Regions from separate parts of the Homo sapiens genome. Here regions 2, 3, 4 and 5 are each linked to region 1. The links are contacts of gene promoters, found by promoter capture Hi-C in human tissues and cell types (Jung and others, 2019). All regions are on one chromosome and are shown on one strand. Each heading gives the region's core, a stretch centred on a gene start or on the middle of the fragment in contact. The rest is flanking DNA. Distances are from core to core; before and after follow the strand shown. Region 1 holds the start of PIEZO1 (piezo type mechanosensitive ion channel component 1 (Er blood group)). Region 2 overlaps SPG7 (SPG7 matrix AAA peptidase subunit, paraplegin). Region 3 overlaps LOC101927863 (a long non-coding RNA gene). Region 4 overlaps ANKRD11 (ankyrin repeat domain containing 11). Region 5 overlaps ANKRD11 (ankyrin repeat domain containing 11).

Evidence for each region. Contacts are between HindIII fragments. The study calls those that stand out against the background at their distance.
Region 2: a fragment that was not itself captured here is called in contact with the fragment with the promoter of PIEZO1 in region 1 in 1 of the 25 tissues and cell types used here (lymphoblastoid cells).
Region 3: a contact is called between a fragment that was not itself captured here and the fragment with the promoter of PIEZO1 in region 1, in 1 of the 25 tissues and cell types used here (lymphoblastoid cells).
Region 4: a contact is called between a fragment that was not itself captured here and the fragment with the promoter of PIEZO1 in region 1, in 3 of the 25 tissues and cell types used here (dorsolateral prefrontal cortex, lymphoblastoid cells and thymus).
Region 5: a fragment that was not itself captured here is called in contact with the fragment with the promoter of PIEZO1 in region 1 in 2 of the 25 tissues and cell types used here (lymphoblastoid cells and spleen).

Annotation. Positions count from the first base shown.
Region 1 is chr16:88,783,968-88,786,475 of GRCh38, reverse strand. PIEZO1 (piezo type mechanosensitive ion channel component 1 (Er blood group)) reads left to right here and starts at 1,256. Exons shown (of 51, transcript NM_001142864.4): 1 at 1,256-1,575. The coding sequence starts at 1,512. RefSeq lists silencers at 758-1,087, 1,128-1,607, 2,108-2,427 and an enhancer at 1,112-2,025. The HindIII fragment of the contact is 3,328 bases long and covers 1,063-2,508 here.
Region 2 is chr16:89,522,977-89,525,484 of GRCh38, reverse strand. SPG7 (SPG7 matrix AAA peptidase subunit, paraplegin) reads right to left here. Exons shown (of 17, transcript NM_003119.4): 4 at 1,238-1,479. Among named protein-coding and RNA genes, the nearest start is that of SPG7, 16 kb to the right of the region's middle. RefSeq lists an enhancer at 2,285-2,508. The HindIII fragment of the contact is 5,277 bases long and covers 1-2,508 here.
Region 3 is chr16:89,504,480-89,506,987 of GRCh38, reverse strand. LOC101927863 (a long non-coding RNA gene) reads left to right here. Exons shown (of 5, transcript NR_188547.1): 2 at 841-1,029; 3 at 1,835-1,943. Among named protein-coding and RNA genes, the nearest start is that of SPG7, 2.7 kb to the left of the region's middle. RefSeq lists an enhancer at 1,091-1,140. The HindIII fragment of the contact is 3,703 bases long and covers 1-2,508 here.
Region 4 is chr16:89,480,619-89,483,126 of GRCh38, reverse strand. The region is part of intron 1 of ANKRD11 (ankyrin repeat domain containing 11); the gene reads left to right. Among named protein-coding and RNA genes, the nearest start is that of ANKRD11, 8.7 kb to the left of the region's middle. The HindIII fragment of the contact is 7,186 bases long and covers 1-2,508 here.
Region 5 is chr16:89,296,925-89,299,432 of GRCh38, reverse strand. All of the region lies in intron 4 of ANKRD11 (ankyrin repeat domain containing 11), which reads left to right. LOC124903757 (keratin-associated protein 5-2-like) reads right to left here. Exons shown (of 2, transcript XM_047435030.1): 2 at 1-2,242. The coding sequence starts at 1. LOC105371414 (a long non-coding RNA gene) reads right to left here. Exons shown (of 3, transcript NR_136339.1): 2 at 1,471-2,242; 3 at 1,116-1,282. Among named protein-coding and RNA genes, the nearest start is that of ZNF778, 80 kb to the right of the region's middle. The HindIII fragment of the contact is 5,021 bases long and covers 1-2,508 here.

The sequences.
Region 1 (2,508 bases), core at 7-2,506:
TGCCTCAGCCTCCCGAGTAGTTGGGACTACAGGAGCCCGCCACCACGCCCGGCTAATTTTTTATGTTTTTAGTAGAGATGGGTTTTCACCGTGTTAGCCAGGATGGTCTCGATCTCCTGACCTGGTGATCCACCCGCCTCGGCCTCCCAAAGTGCTGGGATTACAGGCGTGAGCCACCGCGCCCGGCCTAATTTTTGTATTTTTAGTAGAGACGGGGTTTCACCATGTTGGCCAGGCTGGTCTCGAACTCCTGACGTCAAGTGATCCCCCGACCCCCTACCCCCTTGCCTCAGCCCCGCAAAGTGCTGGGATTACAGGCCTGAGCCACTGCCCCGCCATCTTTTTTTTTTTTTTTTTTTTTTGAGCTGGAGGGTGTGGGCTTGTGCTGGGCTCTCATGAGTTGCCAGTGCCTTGAGGCTCAGTGGCCACAGTCCCCCCAGCCCCACTCCCTGCCTTACGCAGCTGAGTTTGAGAGCCATGAACTGAGCCCAATTAAACGGTGTAGAGCCCTTTGCCCTCTTTCTGTGCCCATCTCAAGGGCAGACGAAGGCCAAACTGACGTGGCCTGGGTGAGGGTCCCGAACACCCTGGACTCAGACCCTACCTCTCCGTGGCAGGGCGCCGCGGCAGCAGGTGCACAGGCCGTGGCTCTCACTCTCACCGTCTCACGCCAGAGCGACCCGGGCAAAGCCGCGCGCGGTGGCCGGCGTGGCTGGGAGCAGCCCCCGAGCCCCCGTCAGACCAACGCGGATCGCGGCACTGCTGCGACCCGAGCATCCCGCGTGCTCCCTCCGGGACCACTAGGCCCGGCCGCCGCGGGAACTCCGAGCCTCCCCACGGTCCCCAGGGGGCGCTGCGTGCTCGCGCCTCGGGGAGCAAAGCGAAAGTCGCTCGGGCACGCGGGGTGCAGTTGCGCGTGGGGCGCTGCCTGGGGGAGCCAGAGGCCCCGGGACCCCTTATGTAGCGCCCGGGCCCCAGCCGCAGCCCACCCAGCGAGAAGCGCCCCTGCCCACCGCCGCGCACGCTCGGAGCCGCGGGGCCAAGACTGCGGGAGGGGAGGGGTCCGCTCCGGGCCAGCGCCAGTCGGGGGTCTCCAGGCCCCAACGCACCAGGGCGGGCCGGAGGCGGGACGGGCCGCGCGGGACAGCGGAGGGGGTGCCTGGGCGCGCCGGGCCGTCGGGGAAGCGCGGAGGCGGGCACGCCGGGGAGGGCGGGAGGGGGCCGAGCTTATAAAGGCCCGCGGGCGGAGGAGGGCGGGAGCCGCCGTCCGGCCCAGCTCGGCCCCAGTGAGCCGAGCGCTGCGCTCCGCCGAGGGGCAGGGCGGTCGCCTGAGCGAGCGCGGGCCCGGGACGTCGGCACCGGCGGGGCGGCCGAAGGAGAAGGAGGAAGAGGAGAAGGCGGCGCGCGGGTCCCCGCGGGTCAGCCATGGCGCGCCGGCCCCGGGGCCCCCGCACCGCCCCATAGCGCCGCGGCGTCCGCTCGGTCTGGGCCGGGCCCTGGGCCCTCCAGCCATGGAGCCGCACGTGCTCGGCGCGGTCCTGTACTGGCTGCTGCTGCCCTGCGCGCTGCTGGCTGGTGAGTGGGGGGCGGGCGCCTGGGGGCGACGGGAGGGGGCTGCGTCTCGGCTCCCCACGGCCTGGACACCGGACGACGCCGGCCGGGGCGAGGGCTGCGGGCGAGCGGGCGCGGAAATTCCCAGGGACGCGCGACCCGGGCGCCCGCATTCCTGAAGCATGAGCGCGCCAGGCGGCGGCGGGGCTCCTGTCCCAGGGCCGGGCTGGAAGGGCGGCGGCGGCTGGGGGAGACGGCACCGCGTGCCCACGGGGGCGGTCGAGCGAGCGCCGGGCATAGCGCGGCTGGCGTCTCCGCCGGGGCGCTGCGGAGAGGAGGCCGCCGGGCGAGGCGGTGTTTGCCCCGGTGGGAAGGGCCGCGGCGGTGGTGGGGGGAGCACGAATCTCTTTTTCTCTTTCGGGTTTAAAAAAAAAAGCGCAAAGTTGCATCAGGACTTCCTGACAATCTGGGAGAAGGCGGGCTTCCTGCCTGGAGCTGTTTAATTTGGAGCTTCCCGAGCCCAACGAACGTCCGTGCCCAGGGCCCAGCCCCGCTCACCGCTGCACCCCCCTCTGCCGGACTGAGGCGGTCCCACACTTTGGAAAAAAATAGTGTGGGTTCCTCCCTGGTCCTCCCTTGCCCTACTGGGCTCAGTTTCGCAGGGGCGGGGGCCGGCCTCTGCCCTGGTCTGGGGGAGGGGACACCCCCGGAGGCTGTGGCCTGGTGTCAGGGCGGGGCAGGGGTCCCCAGTCCTGGCATCTGTGTTCCCTGCTTGCCGGGCAGTGGTGCCCCTTTCGCGAAGCACACCCGGGTGGCTTGGTGCTGCACGGCCTGGCACCCCTACCCTTCCCCGACCCTGGCCTAGCCGGGACCCAGGGTCCGCGCCCTCCGCCCGGGGGCTCCCCACGTGTGATTGATCTGGGAAGCAGTCGGATGGAATTAACCCACGGACAAGTG
Region 2 (2,508 bases), core at 5-2,504, 740 kb before region 1:
ACTGCTAAGACAGAATTCTGAGCATTTTCTCTTTAAGGCAGCTGTTTTATCAGGTGACTCGTCTAGAGCTGAGCATAGTGTTGTAGGTTAAAATAACCTTCCAGACTGAAATAATCAGGCATCCACCAGAGGATTTACGTGAATGAGCACCGTCTTCTGCACTTAGCCATGGTGTATTTTAAGAACAAGGTTTCCTGTTTTTAAAAATAGCAAGACAGCGCCAGGCGTGGTGGCTGACGCCTGTGATCTGGCACTTTGGAAGGCCAAGGTGTAAGGATCACTTGAGGCCAGGAGTTCAAGACCAGCCTGGGCAATATAGTGAGACCTCATCTCTCCAAAAAAACAAAAAATTTAAAAATTAGCCAAGTGTGGTGGTGCGCGCCTGCCATCCCAGCTACAGGGGAGGCTGAGGTGGGTAGATCACCTGAGCCCAGGAGATCAAGGCTGCAGTGAGCCGACATCACACACACCCCTGCATCTCAGCCTGGATGAGACAGAGGGAGACTCTGTCTCCAAAAAAAAAAAAAAAAAGCAAAAGAAAAGGAAAAAGCATTCTGAATCCTGAGTAACCCAGCAAAGGGGCAGAAGCTCTGGTGGAGGCCACGGTCATTTCCAGACCCGGGGGTGGGCCACACCAACCCCAGACCACTTTCCTAATCACTGGTCCACACATTACCCTGGGTTAAATTGCTCCAAGCACATGTTCTGACGCACTCTTGGAATCTAAAGTTACCAGATCTGGCTGGGCACGATGGCTCACGCCTGTAATCCCAGCACTTTGGGAGGTCAAGGTGGGCAGATCACCTGAGGTCAGGAGTTCGAGACCAGCCTTGCCCAACATGGAGAAACCCCATCTCTACTAGAACTACAAAAATTAGCCAGGCGTTGTGGTGCACGCCTGTAATCCCAGCTACCCGGGAGGCTGAGCCAGGAGAATCCCTTGAACTCGGGAGGCAGATGTTGCAGTGAGCCAAGATCACATCACTGCGCTTCAGCCTGGCCAACAGAGCGAGACTGTCTCAAAAACAAAAACAAAAACAAAGGCAACCAAATAAATGCAAATCAATGGGCTGAGGTCCCTGCATGAGAAAGAAGCATGCCCTCAATCACAGGTATCCAAAAGGATGGCAACAGCCAGCGCCCACACCCTCATTCACAGGAGCCCACAGCCTCACTCTCACAGGCTGCCAGCCTGTGCCCACACCCTCACTCACAGGCCTCCCGCACCCTCACTCACAGGCCGCCCAAACACCACGGCTCCAGGGTGCAGGTAGACTTCCACCACGTCGCTCTCAGGCACCACCTGGACGCGCTGCACCTCGCCCTTGGCCAGCATCTCGTGGACAAAGTCGTTCCAGGAAATGCTGCCTCCGCTGGTGCTGAGAGCATTCAGGAGGCTCATGACAACCGCGATGACCAGCAAGGTGCGCAGCCGCTCTCGGTACATCTGGTCGTCCCGCTCACGGCGTCTCCTCTCCTCTGAGCCGGCAGAGAAGCAAAAGGGAGAAACAAACACATGAGCAACAGACACGGGCGACATCCAGAGCTTCCTCAGGAAAGCTCAGCTGGACGGGGAGGGGCAGCGTCCTGCACAGAAGATCCTGCACTTCCTCCAATTCTTCCCTGACGTTATCAGAGACAAAGACTAACGCTGTGCTGTTCGAGGTCACCCACACTTCATTCGCTGAGGTCACTTCAGTGAGGAGCAGGAGTGGTTCCCACCTAAGAGGAAACCATTTCTAAATCGAAACACTTAGACCTGGGCACAACGGTGCACGCCTGTGGTCCCAGCTACTTGGGAGGCTGAGGCGGGAGGTTGAAGCTGCAGTGAGCCGTGATCGCGCCACTGTGCTCCAGCCTGGGTGACAGAGAACGACCCTGTCTCAGAAAAGAAACGACCGTCCCAGGCCGTCCGAGCCGTCACAGATGCAGTCAGCTCTCCTGCTGCAAAGTGCAAGCTCACAATGGCCATGAATCCAGTTGCTTGGAGTTTGATCAAATACTAAATATCAAAACATACACAAAAGTTATTAAAAACGATTAAAACAAATACCTTTTACCACAACCTGCCTCAAGAAATAATACCTTCCCAATCCCACTGAAGACCCTTGTGCCTTCTCTCTCCCTACCCAACAACCATTCTGAACTTTTTACTCATCAGAATGACTAACATTTAACAGAAAGTTGTAGGTTATCACAACATCTGAAAATAGAACTTAAAAATATCATGAGATACACTGTTGAGTCTAAAGGCATATACTCCAGACCACTTGACTCTAGAATTTTCCCAGAGACCAACTCTTTATGAGAAGCACCAGGTGAATTCTTCTAAATTACCTTCCTCAGTTATTAACACCCTACTGAAGACACGGTGGCATTATGCTTAGCTCTCAGAGGATGGAAAAGACATTCGGCCCCTGTTCTCCAGACATTGGGATACCTCGAGGGGAGGTGGACAGGTGCACCCTGCAGACAGCAAGAGACCGACTCAAGGCCGGCCTGGGGCCA
Region 3 (2,508 bases), core at 5-2,504, 720 kb before region 1:
CTGACACTGATTTTCACAACTGAACCGCTTTTCCTTTTGCTTCTTATTGTACAGTCAGCCTTCGCAGTGAATCCAACCTTGCCGTTTCCTCCTCCACTATTTTTTCTTTCCCTGATTGAAAGACACCAGGTGGGCCGGGCGCGGTGCCCTCCCCCTCCCTCTCCCTGCCCTTCATCCCAGCACTTTGGGAGGCCAAGGCGGGCGGACCACGAGGTCAGGAGATCGAGACCATCCTGGCTAACACGGCGAAACCCCGTCTCTACTAAAAATACGAAAAATTAGCCGGGCGCTGTGGCGGGCGCCTGTAGTCCCAGCTACTCGGGAGGCTGAGGCAGGAGAATGGCGTGAACCCGGGAGGCGGAGCTTGCAGTGAGCCGAGATCCCGCCACTGCACTCCAGCCTGGGCGACAGAGCGAGACTCCATCTCAAAAAAAAAAAAAAAGGTCACAAATCCTCTGAACGCACAGGCATAAAGGGTTGTGGGGCTCGGTCACTTCCTAGAACACAAAAAACCCTTTCGGAAGTTTGGTTGGGTTGGTCACGGGACAAGGCTGGAGAGAGGGTGAGGGCACACATTTGGATGTGTTTGGGAGGAGTTTAAGTGTAGTCCTATTAATATTGTTTGAGATAAGTTAAAATTGTTTCCTGGCAATTCATCAGAAGCAGTGTGGGGTGTTGGCAAGAGGCCTCCTCTGGGGAAAGAACACTGGGTTCTGTCTCCTCTGGCCTATGACCTTAAGCAAGTTATTAGCTTCCTCAAGCCTCAATCTTCTCAGCGGTAAAATGGGGATGATAATTATCTGCAAAGCAAGGCTAATATCAGCCTTGGGTTTCCCACAGGGTGGTTATGAAGATAAAATGCAATAAATGTGTGTGAGGGCAACTGACGAGCCAGGAAGCCTTGGCATCCAGAGTTATTACTGGGACGTCATGGGAAATGAGGATATGGGAACAGAGTATTTATGCATTTATTCAAACTCATCTCTAACAACCGTGCTTTGAAGGCTGGCTGCATCCCAGGCCCTACAGGTGAACCGTGACTCTCAGCTCTCAGCTTCAGCCCCTGCTGTAGTGGCGGCAGCAGCAGAGGCTCACGTAGCCTCAAGCAGTAGGGGTTTTGTTTAAGGATTCGGGTGCCCCATGGTTTGGGGGTTTTGTTTTTATTTTGCTGCATGATTTGGATTCAAGAAGAAGGATCTGTAGGACAGTGGGCTCCCGGGTCTGCCTTTGCCCTCATAGCCTGCAGCAGAGCAGGACGTTCGCTTTCCCTTCTCCGCCTGTGTGTTCTTCCTGCACTGCCTAACTGCTGCTTGCTCATTTGTGCTTCCGTGTCACCCCTCCTCAGCCCTCTGAACTCTGCACGTCAGGACTTGGCACACTTCCTAACTGCTGCTTACTCATTTGTACTTCCGCGTCACCCCTCCTCAGCCCTCTGAACTCTGCGCTTGGACTTGGTGTGACTTCCCTTCCCCGCCTATTCTCTAGAGGCAGTCTCTTGGTGACTCCTGGTTTGGGTCAGGGCACGCCTTAGGTCTCTGGATGGCTACCAACCCCAGGTTCCCTCAGCTCTAGCCCCATAAGAGAGGAGGCCTCAGGAGCGCCTAGGGCAGCCCTTTCAGCCTGGGCTGTGGGAAGGGAAGGTGGACAGAGAGGAGACCCCATGCCTTTGTTCCCTGTTGATGCAGAAGCATTCTAGGCTCTGTCCCTTATTCCTGCTGTGGGCTGAAGCTTCAGGCAAGGTGCTCTACAAACTTCAGTTGCCTCATCTATCAAACAGTAACGTTTAACATTCCAGAGACAGAAGTTGATCTTTGGGACTTTTTTTGATTTTAAGATCTAGGCTGGCTGGGGCGGTGGCTCATGCCTGTAATCCCAGCACTTTGAGAGGCCGAGACCGGTGGATCACGAGATCATCAGGAGATGAGACCATCCTGGCTAACATGGTAAAACCCAGTCTCTACTAAAAATAGAAAAAATTAGCCGGGCACGGTGGCAGGTGCCTGTAATCCCAGCTACTTGGGAGGCTGAGGCAGGAGAATCGATTGAATCTGGGAGGCAGAGACTCCATCTGAAAAAAAAAAAAAAAGATCTAGGCTTCTGGCTGGGTGCTATGTCCCACGCCTGTAATCCCAGCACTTTGGGAGGGCAAGGCAGGTGGATCACTTGAGGTCAGGAGTTCAAGACCAGCCTAGCCAACACGGCGAAACTCTCTTTCTACTAAAAATACAAAAAAATTAGCCAGGCACGGTGGCAACATGCCTGTAGTTCCAGCTACTCGAGAGGCTGAGGCATGAGAATCGCTTGAACCTGGGAGGTGGAGGCTGCAGTGAGTTAAGATCTTGCCACTGCACTCCAGCCTCAGTGATGAGTGAGACCCTGTCTTTTTTTTTATGAGACAAGGTCTCACTCTGTTGCCCAGGCTGAAGTACAGTGGTGCGATCTCAGCTCACTGCAGCCTCTGCCTCCCAGCTTCAAGCGATTCTCCTGCCTTAGCCTCTCGAGTAGCTG
Region 4 (2,508 bases), core at 7-2,506, 700 kb before region 1:
TGTGGAAGGGAGACAGAGAACAGCTCTTGGGCGTTGGAGAAGTGCTGGGACTTGTGTCAGTGCTGCCCGTGTTGGTTTTCCAGCGCTGCTGTAACTAACCACCATAACCTTAGATTTATTGTTTTATAGTTCTGTTGATTAGAAGCCTAACATGATCTGCCTGGGCTAAAATCTGGGTAGGTAGGGCTGGTTCCTTCTGGAGGCTCCAGGGGAGAATCTGTGTTCTTGTCTTTTCCGTGTTCCAGAGGCTGCCTGCATTCGGCCTGTAGTGCTTTCCTCAGTCTTCAAAGCCAGCCTCATGGCATCTCTCTGACTCCTGCTGCCCACCCGCTTTTTTGGAGAGTCTCGGCTCTGTTGCCCAGGCTGGAGTGCAGTGGCACAATCAAGGCTCACTGCAGCGTCGACCTCCTGGGCTCAATCAATCCTCCCGCCTCAGCCCCCCAGCAGTGCTGGAATTACAGGCATGGAGCCACTGTGCCTGGCCCTTGTTTCACTTTTGGATCCTTGTGGTTACAAATTGGGCCCACCCGAGCACTGCGAGGTCATCTCCCTCTCTGCTGATTAGTAACCTCAGTTCCCTTTTCCACGTAACCTAAGGCATTCACAGGTTCCAGGGGTGAGCAAGCTGGAGGTTTTTCCAGTAATGTTCCCTTGCTGTCCTCAGATGCCATCCGGGATCCCACATTGCATTTAGTTGTCATGTCTCCTTAATCTCGTCTGCAACCATTTCTCAGCGTTTCCCTGTTTTTCATGACCTTGGCAGTTTTGATGAGGGCAGTCATCTTTTTTTATGTCTTTGTGACTGACCGTTCACACATTGGCATGTTTGTAAAGCACGGTGTGGCTGACGTGTGGCTCACCTGACTGCTTTTCCAAATGGGGTGCAGTGTGCTCTACAGTGGGAGAACAGCTTTGTGTCTTCTTTTAGCTGGAAGGAGCTACATGTTTTATAGAAGGGACTTCTGAAACTAGACAAACTCTGCTTTTTCTGATGTTTCACTGATTTCCTTCACAGATGTTCATTGGCTGCTCACTGGGTGCAGTGCTGTGGCCTCCTGTTCTGAGATCTGGGAGAAAGATGCATTTAGTTGACTAAAGCTTGCATTAAATATTGGTTCTTATGAAAAGAGAGATCATAGATCAGAGGAGGGAAAGGCTCTGTGACCTGGGAGATTTAAGGGAAGAAGTGCTATTTTTTTTTTTTTTAACTGTAAGCTATGTTTCTGTTTTAAAAAAAGAATCAGTAGAATGTCACTGCAGAAATCAGAGTAAGGGCATCTTCGACTTCGGGAAGGCTGGGGACAAAGGCTGGGAAGGCCGCATGTAACGTGAGAATGTCAGCCAGACGTGTCTGAACACGAAAGCCCATCCAAGAAGATGGAAGATGACAGCAGATTAACCTGGAAGCATGACTGGAGTTGGGTTGTGTAGGGTTTGCAATGATAGACCTGAATTTCATTTGCTTACTTGTTTTGAGGCAGAAGATGATGTGTCAGAGTTTGCAGGCGGTGGATGCCTAGATGAAAGCACTGGCTTTGCAACACCATGGTGCCTAAATGGTTCTTTTTTTGAGACAAGGTCTTGCTCTGTCACTCAGGGTGGAGTGCAGTGGCGTGACCATATCTCACTGCATCCTTGAGCTTCTGGGCTCAAGTGAGCCTCCTGCGTCAACGTCATGAGTGGCTAGAACTACAGACGTGCGCTAATTTTTAAAAATTCTTTGTAGAAATGGGGTTTCGCTATGTTTCTTAGGCTGATGTTGAACTCCTGGCCTCAAGTAGTCCTCCTGCCTCAGCCTCCCAAAGTGCTGGGATGACAGGCACAAGACATCACATGCAGCCTTAAGAAGATCCCTACAAGAGAACCTGGAGAAACTTGAAATAGGGAAGGGGACTCGAAAGCACACTGTGTAGGTGAATTGTGAAGACTTCATGGTGTTAACTGGTATTCATTAAAAAGACTTGGAAAAAGAGAAGATGAATTGATTCCCAGTGGAGGGAATGGGGCAAACATTAGTTAGGAGAGTGGCTTTGTGAAACGATAGAGCAAAGGAGACAGAAAAGAAAGCAGGAATGGGGAACGGGGTGGTGGGGCAGAAGCTGGGTGCTGTTTATTTTGTGCCTACTGTGTGTCACTCTCCATTCTCTGCCCTGGGGACATTTGACAGATGTGGACGTCACTGGTGTGATTTGCCCACATTCTGGAGGGAGAAGTGGGCATCTCAGTTGAGGAAAGGAAATGGCTATCTGGGGAATTCTTGAGGGGCACAGCCCAGGACGGAGCCTTGTGTTAGATGGGTACCTGCTGGCTCTGCTCAGCTCGGCAGATGTGTTGCCTAAATGACTTTAATGGCCAAGGCAGACTGGTATTTGCCCTCAGATATTTTGTCAGGACAGTGTAAAATGTGGGCCAAGATAGTGGTTTTGGGTCCAAACAGAAGGGGGTTAGAGATTTTGGAGGTTGAAGCCTGCTGCTAGAAGGAGTATAGAAAGAAGAACGGGGATTCTG
Region 5 (2,508 bases), core at 7-2,506, 510 kb before region 1:
TCCCACACAGGGCAGGCACCCCACACAGGGCACAGACCCCACACACCCCACACAGGGCAGGCACCCCACACAGGGCACAGACCCCACGCACCCCACACAGGGCAGGGATCCCACGCAGGGCACAGATCCCACGCAGGGCAGGGCCAGCCCAAGGCCAGGCCCCTCCCCTGTAGATCTCCTCCCAGGCAGGACCAGAGCCACAGTCACTTCCACACTATCTCCTTCCCTAGAAACCTCTGCAGACTCTTCCTCCTCTCCTCGATACACAGGGGCCCCTGCCACAGCCTGACTCTCTGCCACCTCGTGAGTCTCTGGAAAGCAGGGTCGGCCTCTGAATACAGAGGACTTGGGTCCTGCCGGAGGATGCTTGGCCAGTGGGTGCTGGCACGTGAGCAGCCCCCGGGGAGTCAGAGTGGGGCTGCAGCGAAGGCCGTGGTGGTCGAGGTGAGGGTGGTGGCCAGGTCTTGTTGCCGCAGTGAGGATTCTGGGGTTACCCTAAGAGCCACCACATTCAGGCACTCAAGAAAAAGCACGTCAAAATAAAATATTTTCACATGATTAAGAACTCCGCGTGATTGGTCTCTGGTCCTCCTATTTCTCAACCATTTTTCCTCTCTAGACGTAAGCAGTTTCTCATACAAAGGGAAGCTTGGACTAGCAAAGGGAAGGTTCTTGCTGTTTAAAATTCTGTAATCCCCAAGCCGCAGCAAAGGCTTCCCTGACACCCCTCAGAAGTGCACTTAGGCCGGTAGCCAGGCCCATGTTGTCAACACAACACAGACAAGCTGGGGTCCACAAGACCACCCGAGGCTCAGCGATTTGATGGAGGACCCCGGGACTCAGGATAAAGGTGGTGGCTGCCGTGGGAGCAGTCAGCCAAGTGAGGGGGGCGGGCAGGGGCCGTCTGCTACCTCCTGGCTCCATGCTGTGGGACTTTGGGCCCATTTCTCAGCCTGTCTGTGCCTCTCAGCCCTTTCATCCATAAAGCTCTGCTGTGTGAGGAGCTGTGGCCCCTCGACAGAGGGGTCCCCCCAGCCCTGTGCTCTCACCGCCCATGCATTCGGCCAGGCAGGCCTGTGCCCTGCAGGAGTGACGGACACAGCTCAGGCCTCAGCGCAGGTTTGGACGTTGATCTTGTTTATTTTAAAATACCCACGATGCTGTGTGTGTGGAAAGGAGGCCCAGGGTGGGAAACCGTTCTGTTTGGTTGTCATCTGAGCCCTTTTGCCGACATTGCTTCCTTCCTTCCTGGCTTCTTGTTCACCATGGTGACCGCTGGATGCTGGTGAAACCACCATGGGGCTCAGGCCCTGCTCCTTCCCACCCTTGCCACATAACCCTGTTTGCCTCCACAGGCTTCCTGTGGAACTGGTCCTTCCGCCCCACCCCACCCTACCCCTACCCCACCCCGGCCTGGAGATGGGGAAGGCATGGAGGTTGTGCAGGCAAGGGCTGGACGCACAGCCTTACCTCTGTGTGACCCCTTCACATACACTGCGGAAGAAGCCAAAGCTGAAAGGCGTAAGAGATGACCCAGCTCCCATCGGCAGGCGGGAGGGCTGAGGTCACGCAGCAGACAGGGGTAGGCCCTGTCTTTCTTTAAGTGATCAATGACGGTAACTGACAGAAAGAAGGCAGAAAGAGAGAGAAACCTGGAGATTGGAAGGAGAAGCCAGTCTCACCACAAGATGGCTCACAGTGCTCAGCGGGCGCCCGCCAGCTTCTCTTGTTGGCCCAGGACAGGCTGTTCGGAGCTTGTCTTGCTGCCCCAAGGAGGATGTCAGTGGGAATATGGTTGCGCCCTCGTTTGGAGTTGTGCGAGCGTTGAGCTCAGTGCCCGGGTAGGAACTTGGCGTTGTGGACCATCCGCCTCGTGTAGATCGGCTGTGATTTAGACTTCTTGGCCAGAAGTGCTGTATTTCATGGCTTTGAACATCCGGATGAGGCCAGATGTTTGGTGTGGACAGCATGGTTTTTAGTCAAATGGAAGAGAATCTGTGAGCAGCAGCCGTGCTACAAAGCTGCACCCGGCCCTGCCCATCAGTTCCATGAGCTGTAACCGCCATCGGCCGTGAACTTTCTGTTGTTTGAAAATATCGCCATGGAAACATCCCTTTGTGGAGCAGAATCAAGAATGTATTTTGACGTCTTCGAGTTTTACGGTGGGACGCAGGAGTTGCACATTTTCCTATGTTGACAGTATCGTGGCCTGTGTCTCCTAAAAGACTCTTGCTAGAAAAGCCTAGAAATTAGAGGTGCTAAATGATTGATACAAAAGGCATTTGTTCAGATGAGCAGCTGAGGCCACACACCTCCACGTCCCTGGGGCCCAACCTCAGGGTCTCTGCCTTGGAGCCCAGCTTCAGACCTCCCAGGGAGGTAGAGGAAGGGGCTTTGGGCCCAGACCCCACGGAAAGCTTGTCCCCTCGAGAGGGCCACACTTCCTGGACACTGGGCTATCAGGGTAGACACTGTCCCCCCAGCTAAGAGGGACAGGTGCTGAGGAGG